Linked DNA regions of Homo sapiens: region 1 is linked to region 2. The links are contacts of gene promoters, found by promoter capture Hi-C in blood cells and fetal thymus (Javierre and others, 2016). All regions are on one chromosome and are shown on one strand. The core of a region is centred on a gene start or on the middle of the fragment in contact, and the rest is flanking DNA. Distances in the headings are between cores, read along the strand shown.

Region 1 (4,988 bases), core at 408-2,907, 560 kb before region 2:
ATTTAATGACCTATTCTGCACAGCAACCCTGTGGAGATGGGTGCAGCACCATGACCCTCCCTGTTTAGCAGACAGGGGCAGGGGCGAGGAGGGCTGAGTGCTACCCAAAGCCACTGCTGTGGAGTGGAGCCAGCGCCAATCTCAGTCTGGCTTCAGAATCTGTGCATCTGACCACAGCGCCAAGCTGCTCAGCAGTGCCCATCTCTGCACTCTTGCCAACACTTAAAATGCTTCCCAATTTGTTCAGTAAAACACCATTTGTTGGTCCAATTTGTGTTCCCTGTATTATTGAGAAACTTAGATGATATTTATCTCCATCAACACCTTGCTAAGAAGTAAAAATCCCAAGTAGGTAGATGAGGTGAGGAAGGGAAGAAACAGTCCCCATAGGCAGAATTCGAGGGGGTTTAAAAAACATCCACCTTAATAATCAATATCAGTACATTAAAAAATGGCTAATAAAGGTATCCGCCCATTCATCAACTTCCAAACTCAGTTCCCATGTGAAATGGTGTTCAAGACCAAACAGCTTTGTGTGTCTCATGAAGAATATGGATTCCAGGAGGGACCATCTCAGTGATCTCCAGGAATGTAAGGAGGCAGAGTCCTCTCTTGGAGATATGGAAGGAGCAAAATACGTACCTGTGTATACAATACCACGATGACGTGCAAAAGGGAAACAAAATAAAACTAAAGGACAACAGAGTCTGGATGTTTTGTTGCCTGCAGATCTCACGTTGAAATGTGACGTCCAACAATGCAGGTGGGCCTGTTCTCGCAGTAACACGAGAGTTCTCACTTTATGAGTTCACGTGGGATCTAGTTGTTTAGAATAGAGCTGGGCACCTCCTCTCTCTCTCTCTTGCTCGCTCAATCTCTCACCATGTGACATGCAGGCTCCCACTTTGCCTTCTGCCATGATCATAAGCTTCCTGAGGCCTCACCAGGAGCTGAGTAGATGCTGGAGCCATGCTTCTCTTACAGCCTACAGAACTGTGAGCCAAAATAAACCTCTTTTCCTTATAGATTACCCAGTCTCACACATTCCTTTATAACAATGCAAACACACCAACAAAAAGGAAAGAAGCAGGCCAGACCTTGCAATGTGGCCTCACGAGGAATGTACACTATGGCTTCCATTGAACCATTTGCACCACTGACTTGTCATAGCATTTCCAGCCTCTGGAAAGCATTCCATAAGCCTTGCCCGCATAACACCTTGAAGTAGCAGCTCCTATAAATTTCATGAACACATCTGCAGTTTGCTACTCCTGACCACAAGCAGAGCCAGGCCAGGCTTGGGACATTCACACAAAACAAACACATCAAGTAGTGAACAAGCCTCACAGCCTCCAGTTCTAGGGCTTAACAGAGAGCCACACTGCACCTGCACAGCTTCAGTGCCGCTCATCATTTGCTGAATCCCTTAAGCAAGTGAGTCAACAAGGTCTTTCATTTTTTTTATCTTATACGGGCGATCTCCAATGTAGTATTCCTCAGCTTAGCAACAACGGCACATTTAGAGAAGAAAGAGTTAAGCTGCAGGCCCCTCCTCCCCAGCAATCTTTACACAGCATTTCTATGCAACGGACCACACACAAAACACGCCTGCAGTCATGTAACGGCGGTAACATTTGTTGAATTCTTACTATGTACCAGGCGTGCTTTCAAGCTCTGTGTGTGTATGAACCCACTCAATGCTCACACGGGCCTCTGACGTAGCTAACTGCTGTGATTCTCATCTACAGACGAGGAATCCTCAAGGTGAAGCCCTGCCCACATGACAAAGCAGGCGCGAGAGCAGCGAGATGGGGACCCAGGCCGACCTCGGCCCCCGACAGAGCCGGCAGGGAGAAGGACCCAGGCCCACCTCGGCCCCCGACGGAGCCGGCAGGGAGAAGGACCCAGGCCCACCTCGGCCCCCGACGGAGCCGGCACAGAGCAAGAATGAGGTGGTGCTCATCCCACACACGACGTTCCCTGTGCTGGCGTCGAAGCACCTGCACAACGTTGCTTCTTTGGGAACACGCATTCCGGTTCCAGACAAAATGCGAAGTTACCAGGAAGCCTGTTTGAGAGTGGGGTTGGGAGGGGGGGTCTTCCCTTCTGAACTGGCAGCCAGAACCCCGAGGAAGTGTCTTTTTTTTTTTTTTTTTAAACAGGGCAGCTACTCTGGTCTTGAATCACCATTCACCACCAAAGGTTTCTCTTTTAGATGGACGTAAATCAGCCCTGATGAAGGTGCCGGGGCAGCCACACAACGCACACAGAACACAGAACATCTCCTCTGCTTTCTTTCCTCTCTGGGCCACTCTTTTTCACAGCAGCAGAATGAACTAATAAATTCACAGTACTGGTAAAAATGCCCTTTAAAGGACAGGAGCAGTTAAGCTTGTGAACTCATTTCAGCAGAAATAATATTTTCAGGAAACACGCACCGCGAGGGGAAATTCAGTGAAAAATGTGCATGTACCTTTTTCGATGTTTAGCGTGACACAGACTTTCAAAAACACAACAGATAAGTGAGATTGCGATTTTTAATAGGAAAAGATACAATGTAAAAGCAGCCAATATATTAAGTTATGAGTTGATTTAATGTAATATTCTTCCTTTTCTCTAACAGGAGCAATGCATGCCCACTAAAAACAGCCCATTTTACAAGCTGCACAGCACGGAAAGTGAGCTGCCCATCTTTACTGCCTCACCCACCCTGTGCAGCGCAGTTTTTTTTTTTTTTTTGCACTGAATATACTATTTACAGATACTTAATTTTTTGTTACCAAAAACGGGATCACACTATATAAACTTTTTTACAAACTCTTTCTCATAAGCCTTGGCCACCTTTCTATTTCCAGGGGAGGTTATGGGCTGGAACTGGGGGGGACCCCGTGGGGAGGCCCCTCCTCTGCCATCTTCCCGCTGCACCTCCTTTGCCAAAACCAACTTCTCATCATCTAATTCACCACAAAACAGAACACACTGTAAAACGCACGTGGTTGGGTGAAATTAAACAGGAAACTTGGTTTGCTATTCGATGCTACCTAACTCTCATGGTCTGGGTCACGTGATTTTCATCTCGAAACTACTCTGTAGTTAGAGAATTGCAAAATTTTATCCCTCTTTTTAGATAAAATGACACAGTTTATCTTGCGTTCTCTTACATGCGGGATTATGGAACTCTGGGTCTGACTTTTCCGAGCAGTGGGAAGTGCTCACTTCGGATCCACTTTGGCTCAGGGCTGTGCTGACGTTTTCTCCGCTGTCACTCATCCAGGCACCATCAGCACCCAGTGGGCATCAGACAGCACCCTTCTCCCTGCGGACACGTCTTCTTTGATTTTTCTCCCAGCTAACTTCGAGCTTGGATACTTTCAAAAACTAGAAGATGGTTGTGGTGACAAGGGGGTATTTTATCTTTTCTGGAATTATTGTTTCATTGTTTTATATGATTTTTGCATTTTCATTACTAAAATATCAGGGTATCCAAATAGTACTTTGTAGTTACAAAGCTAAAAATTATGTTTTTCAGTTCAATAAACATTTCACAACGTAGCTTTAAGAAAATCAAGTCTATCATCTACATTCTAGAGATGGTAACAGAGTCAGATGGCAGGAGATTTAGGGGATACTTGTAGCCAGGAAACAGTTTCCTGGTTTTCGCCTTGCAATTTGTCCTTTAAAAAATGTCTGATGAGTTTAGGCACCACAAGCCCCTATTTCCCCAATATTTTTCTACTCTAAAACTAACATCGGGAGAAAAGAAAACACAAAATATAACAGGACAGTGACAGTTTTAAAGAGAAAAAAATACTTTAAATGCCTAGGTGAAAATACAGTTCACGTAGCAAGACTGAGCAGACTTCACTAGAGAACGTGATTTCCTGCCACCACTTGGCTGACACACATGAACACGAAGGTGAAAACAGACACACATGAAGGCACACACATCAACACAAACACGAAAACAGGCATACACAGGTGAAGACAGACATGAAGGCATGCATGCATGAACAGGCATGCATAAAGACACGTGAACACAAACATGCCTAGACAAAGACATGCATACATGTGAACACAGACATGCATAAAGACACGTGAACACACATGCACAAAGACACATGTGAACACATGCAGACACGTGAACACAAACATGCAGACATGTGAACGCAGACATAGACACACATGAACAGACATGCATAAAGACACACGAACACAGACATGCATAAAGACACACATGAACAGATATGCCTAGGCACACATGAACAGACATGCATACACACATGAACAGATATGCACAGACACGTGAACAGACATGCATAAAGACACATGTGAACACATGCCTAGACACGTGAACACACATGCCTAGACACCCATGGACATGCATAAAGACACAAATGAACAGACATGCACAGATGTGAACAGACATGCATAGACACATGTGAACAGACATGCCTAGACACACGTGAACACAGACATGCATAAAGACACGGACACAGACATGCGTGAGGACAGGCGAGTCACCAGCCCTTGTCCCTTCAAAGTCTCCGACTCATGTTTTTAAAGACTCTCAACCTCCCTAAAATGAGTGCTGGTCATTCTTTTTTGGAGACTGGCCTTTCTGTGAGGGGAGAACCAATGGCATAAGCTCTGGCAGTGACCTGCCTGCAGCGCTGGGCAACCTGACAGAGGGCACAGCACCTGCGGCCCAGGCGCCAGCCTGCTCCCACATACCCATCGCCAGGGCTGCTGCTGGCTCCCGAGTGCCACGCCCCCCCCCCCCCCCCCCACAACCCCTGACAGCTGCTGCTGGCTTCTGTACGCCCTGCCCCGCTACCCCACCCCAACCCCTTCCCCATCACTAGGGCTGCTGCTGCTCCCGGAAGTGCCCGTGCATCCTGCGTATTTATCAAGCGGGATACTGGAGGTTCCATTGATCCTGTGAGCCCCAGAACTTTCCGACATGCTCTGTTTTGCATGACAGACATTCT
Region 2 (5,263 bases), core at 1,537-4,036:
TCATAAAAACACCTTAAATATATACTTGTCAAAACTTGTGCTTACTTATGGAAATTGCATTAAATTCAATAAATTCTTTAAATCTCACTTTTAAAAATGGCAATCTTCCCGAACATTAAACCAAATTACATTTCTCCCTGAATTTGCTGCCACTTAATTTCAGCTACTCTTCTACAGAATAGTACCCATGTTATCTTTTTTTCTGTCTGGTTCCTACTCAAAAAGAGTGGAACTGCTTTCTCCAAATATGCATTCTGTGCTCAGAAGCTGTTTTCTCTGCCCAGATACATGTGTAAACAAGCCAAAAAAAACAAAACAAAAAAACAAAAACAAAAACAAAACTTTCTGCTAATAGATTGACAGCTACAAGGTAGAATATTTTAAAAATTCAGTAAGCTGGGCGCAGTGGCTCACTCCTGTAATCCCAACACTTTGAGAGGCCAAGGCAGGTGGATCACTTGAGGCCAGGAGTTCGAGACCAGCCTGGGCAACATGCTGAAACCCCGTCTCTACTAAAAATACAAAAATTAGCCAGGTGTGGTGGCATGTGCCTGTAAATCCCAGCTACTCGGGGGGCTGAGGCAGGAGAATAACTTGAAGACCTAGGAGGTGGAGGTTGTAGTGAGTTGAGATCGTGTCACTGCACTCCATCCTGGGTGACAGAACAAGACTCCAACTCGGGGGGGGAAGAAAAAAATCAGTAATAGTGAAAATAGCAAAACCAGACAACATTTCCATGTTTGTGTTACAACAGTCCTAAGAAAATGAGATTATCATCATCCCCCTGTTACAATTGAGAAAATGTAGGCAACACGAGGGTAACTTCTAATGAATAAGCCATGCCTTTGTTTCATATAAATAAGTCAACTCAACTCACATTAACTTTTCAAAATACCGGATAAAATTTATTTCTAACCAATGCAAGTTTCAAAGATAAGTACACAAATTAAATTTATGATTAAATAATAAGCTTGTTAATCTGATGCCTTTCGGAACGCATTTCACTTAGCAAACCTCAATTAAGCTATTTCTTATATGGTTTGATTACAAAACTGCCTTTCAGCATATTAAATACAAGGAGAAAAAACTGAAAAGCCACAACGATTTCAACTTCTGTAAATTACCCTGACTGTAATGAGGGGCGCCAGGCAGGTTGGGGAAGTATGGAAATTGCACACTGCACACACCACCTGACCACCAAGAAAAAAGAGGACACCACTCTTCCCCACTGTGGTCTTCACAAACTACAACTCAGCACCTATTTCAAGTGCATTTAAATATTCAAACAACTGAAACTAAGAGAAAAAAACTTTCGAAAGGGAAAATAACTTGTCTGTCCCCTTCAATGTTCACCTTGGAGTTGCTCTCATCTCTAGAAAAAGGCCTCACGCATACTGTTTATACTTACAAACTCCACTGCCCTGTCAAGGAAAACCTTCCTGTTTTCTCAGTTATCCAAAACTTCAAACTTCCAATTTACTATTAAGACAAGTTATTGGGCATCCACTTAGAGAATCTCAAACGAAAGCCAGATAGGAGGTAGTTTTCTACAGCTAGGTTTCTCAAGTTTCATCTCAGCCAAGTTTTAAGAACGTTTTACGTAAAAATAAGGGGAAAAGCAAAATTACATTCGCATGAAGTTTCGACGCACAACGGCACTGAAACGGAAAGACTCTTCACGTTCCCAAGCGCACCCTGAGAGGCAGGTGCAGCAGCTTTCCGATGGCTTCTCTGCCGCCCATGTATCCCAGCCCCAAGACCAACACAGGCAATCTTCACATCTGACTTTATTTTTTTAACTCCTTCAGATCCACCTCTGCTCAAGTCTATCAACAGGAAAACAGGAGCGTTCCAAACACACACCGAGCAACAGGATCCCAACTTCCTGGTTCTAAAGGAATGCGATGCCCTGATGACCCGTCCCGCCCCGCACCCGCACGGCCGCCTATCCGGGCTCCGGCGGGACCGAGGAGCGAGTGGCAAGGCTGGCGCCGCACTGCGGGTGCCGGCGCCCGCCCGGCCTGGGGGCGCTCGCGGCCCGCGACCCCGGCCCCGCCCAGGCCCTGCCCGACCCCCGTCCTCGCCGGCCTTCGCCCAACCCCGGCCTCCCGACCCTGACCCCGGCCCGGTCTTCCGGGCACCCAGCTCCGTCGACTCCCGCCTCGCCTCAACGGGTCCTCCTAAGCCCCGGCCCCGGCCTTCCCCTGCCCCGGCCTCGGCCATCCTCAGCCCCAGTTTTCCCCTGCCCCGGCCCCGGTCCTCCTCAGCCCCGGCTTTTTCCTGGCCCTGACCCCGGTCCTCCTCAGCCCTGGCCCTTCCCGTGCCCTAGCCCCGGTCCTCCTCAACCCGGCCCCGGCCTTCCCCTGCCCCGGCCCCGGCCCCGGCCCAGGCCCGGCCCTGCCCGCCGCGGCCGCGTCCTCCGGGAAGATGGCGGCGCAGTGACAGGCGGCGCGGCGCGGGTCCGAGCTGGGCCGGGAGGGACGGCCCGCCGCGGCCCAGGGTGCCTCACCTGTCAGCGCCGCCGCCCCGCCCGACCGGCCGCCCGCGGGCTCCTCGCCTCAACCCCGGGGCCCGGCGGCCGCGCCACACGCGGGGACGGCGAGGAGAGAGACGGCAGGGAGAGGCGGCGCGGCCGGGCCGGGCCGGGCCGGAGGTAGGGGAGAGGGCGGGCGCGAGCTGGCGGCGGCGGCGGCGGCGGATTCTTCCCCTTTCGGGCCCGAAAATGTCTCAACCCCGGGACTCCAGATCCCCAACGCTCCTTCCCGTTCGCATGAGAACACACAGCTCCCACTTCCGGGGCCCTGCGGAAGTCCCGCCCCCGCGCGGACCCGCGCCTCGCGCCCTGAACTCGCGCACTCACCCGCCGGTCCCGCGGACTGGCGCTCAGCCCCGGGAGAGCCTCACGTCATGGTGTTGCGGCGCGCTGATTGGGCGCACCCGACGCTCGGCCCGCCCCGCCGCCTTCTTGGCCTCTCCGCGCGTACACCCTGCTCGCGGCCTTGCGATTGGCGCGTGCGCGCACATCGCCCCGCCCCGCGCACGCCGCACGTCCGCCCCGCCCGCCCCGCCCGCCCCGCCCGCCGTCCCCGGCGCGACCGGAGCGCCTGACGCTGGGGGGCCGTGTGGGCCCTGACTTCCGGAGGGCTGGGCCCTGGTCCTCCGCCACCGCGTGCGCCCCTTAAAGACCCCTGCCCGCCGCCCAGGACGGATGGCGACCCCGGCCCTAGCCTGTCCCCAGACCCTGGACCAAGGCCCCGGCCCTGCCCCGAACCCCTCATCCCACCCCCAGGACCCAGGCCCCGACCCTGGCCACCCAGGACACGCCCTGGCCCTTCCCCGAACTCCCACCCCACAGCTGGGATCAAGGTCCCGGCCCTGCCCGGAACACCTCACCCCACACCCGGGACCCAGGCCCCGGCCCTGCCCCGAACTCCCACCCCACACCCGGGACCAAGGCCCCGGCCCTGCCCCGAACCCCTCACCCCACCCCCGGGACCAAGGCCCCGGCCCTGCCCAGAACTCCCACCCCACACCCGGGACCAAGGCCCCGGCCCTGCCCAGAACTCCCACCCCACACCCGGGACCAAGGCCCCGGCCCTGCCCCGAAGGCCCCACCGGGGACCCAGGCCCCGGCCCTGCCCCAAACTCCCACCCCACACCCGGGACCAAGGCCCCGGCCCTGCCCCGAACGCCCCACCCGGGACCCAGGCCCCGGCCCTGCCCCAAACTCCCACCCCACACCCGGGACCAAGGCCCCGGCACTGCCCCGAACGCCCCACCAGGGACCCAGGCCCCAGCCCTGTCCCGAACTCCCGCCCCACACCTGAGACGAAGGTCCCGGCCCCGAAGTCCCAACCCCACACCCGGGACCAAGGCCCCGGCACTGCCCCGAACCCCCGCCCCACACCCCTAACCAAGGCCTCGGCTCAGCCCCGGAATCCCCAACCCCACACCTGGGATCAAGGCCCCGGCCCTTCCCCAAACCCCCAACCCACACCCGGGACCAAAAGGCCCCGGCCCCACGTTTCCTAGAGGCGCTGGGTTCGGGCCCACGTTGCAACGAGTCAGATGCTCTTGGTAGCTCAGGGAGGTGTTCACACTCCTGCCGTTTCCGTGAGGATGGTGACGACTCCGAACTATAGCAGCATACTCTACCTACCCCTGATCAGTTTATGGAAGAAAAGGAAACCAAACAAAGTATGTTGCGTTTCCCTTAAGCTTGCTGCCTGATTTTCTGGTTTCTGCTCTGATTGGCTACATATACACATATTATCAATTATTCCAAATTTTAGGTTTGTTCCCCCATTAAAACGGCTTTTCAGGGATACCATATTCATGGTTAACCGTGTACCTGTGCTTACAACTGCTTTTTTAATTTTGTTTTTTGATACAGGGTCTTGCTCTATGCAGGTCTGCACTCTGAGCTCAGAGTGCTGTCTCGGGCCCCCAAAATCTGGGATTAGAGATGGGAGCCGGTGTACCCAGCCTGTGCTTATAATTTTTCGTACTCAGCGTTCAAATGCTGACAATTCTGCATTTTGGAAGAAAGCCTCTCCGGCTTCCCATAGTGGGTAGACTGTTGACATCAAGGTTGGGTGCCTTCTTTGTGAAACCTTGTTGCATCCTAGCTTTAAGGGAATTTGCAAGTTAAATAATTATATTCATAGTAATGTTTTTAAAGAACATTTAACGACATAAGACACATTTCCTTTAATATTAAAAGCATGTACATATTTCAGAAAACTTGCTTACCTGGACAACCTGCCCTGACCAGTAGGCCATAGTGTCCTTGCTTAGGTGCCTGGTTCCTTTACCTCCACGGATAACCTACAGGAGCTTACTCTTGGTTCATAACATTGCTAGGGCCATTGATGTGGTATAAGTCTAGGAATTCTGCCCCAAAATTGGTAGGTTAAACTTTTTTTTTTTTTTGAGACTGACTCTCCCTCTGTCACCCCGGCTGGAGTGCCGTGGCATAATCTCGGCTCACTGCAACCTCAGTCTCCCGGGTTCAAGTGATTCTCCTGCCTCAGCCTCCGGAGTAGCTGAGACTACAGCCGCATGCCACCACGCCCAGCTAATTTTTTGTATTTTTAGTAGAGATGGGGTTTCACCGTGTTAGCCAGAATGGTCTTGATCTCCTGACCTCGTGATCCGCCTGCCTCAGCCTCCCTAAGTGCTGGGATTACAGGCGTGAGCCACCGTTCCCGGCTGGTAGGTTAAACTTCAATCTTTTTTGTCTATGTCTACATTCCAGCAGACA

Evidence for each region. The method cuts DNA at HindIII sites, captures the fragments that hold promoters and counts their contacts. A CHiCAGO score of 5 or more calls a contact.
Region 1: a contact is called between a fragment that was not itself captured here and the fragment with the promoter of LARP4B in region 2, in 1 of 17 cell types (fetal thymus). The highest score is 5.4, in fetal thymus.

Annotation. Positions count from the first base shown.
Region 1 is chr10:374,419-379,406 of GRCh38, forward strand. The region is part of intron 17 of DIP2C (disco interacting protein 2 homolog C); the gene reads right to left. Among named protein-coding and RNA genes, the nearest start is that of ZMYND11, 240 kb to the left of the region's middle. The HindIII fragment of the contact is 1,463 bases long and covers 927-2,389 here.
Region 2 is chr10:928,919-934,181 of GRCh38, forward strand. LARP4B (La ribonucleoprotein 4B) reads right to left here and starts at 2,787. Exons shown (of 18, transcript NM_015155.3): 1 at 2,510-2,787. It overlaps LOC124902363 (keratinocyte proline-rich protein-like), which reads left to right and starts at 3,073. Exons shown (of 2, transcript XM_047426111.1): 1 at 3,073-4,197. The coding sequence starts at 3,209. The coding sequence ends at 3,913. It overlaps LARP4B-DT (LARP4B divergent transcript), which reads left to right and starts at 4,108. Exons shown (of 3, transcript NR_120629.1): 1 at 4,108-4,197. RefSeq lists silencers at 1,978-2,107, 2,198-2,277, 2,308-2,417, 2,488-3,197, 3,278-3,367. The HindIII fragment of the contact is 3,248 bases long and covers 969-4,216 here.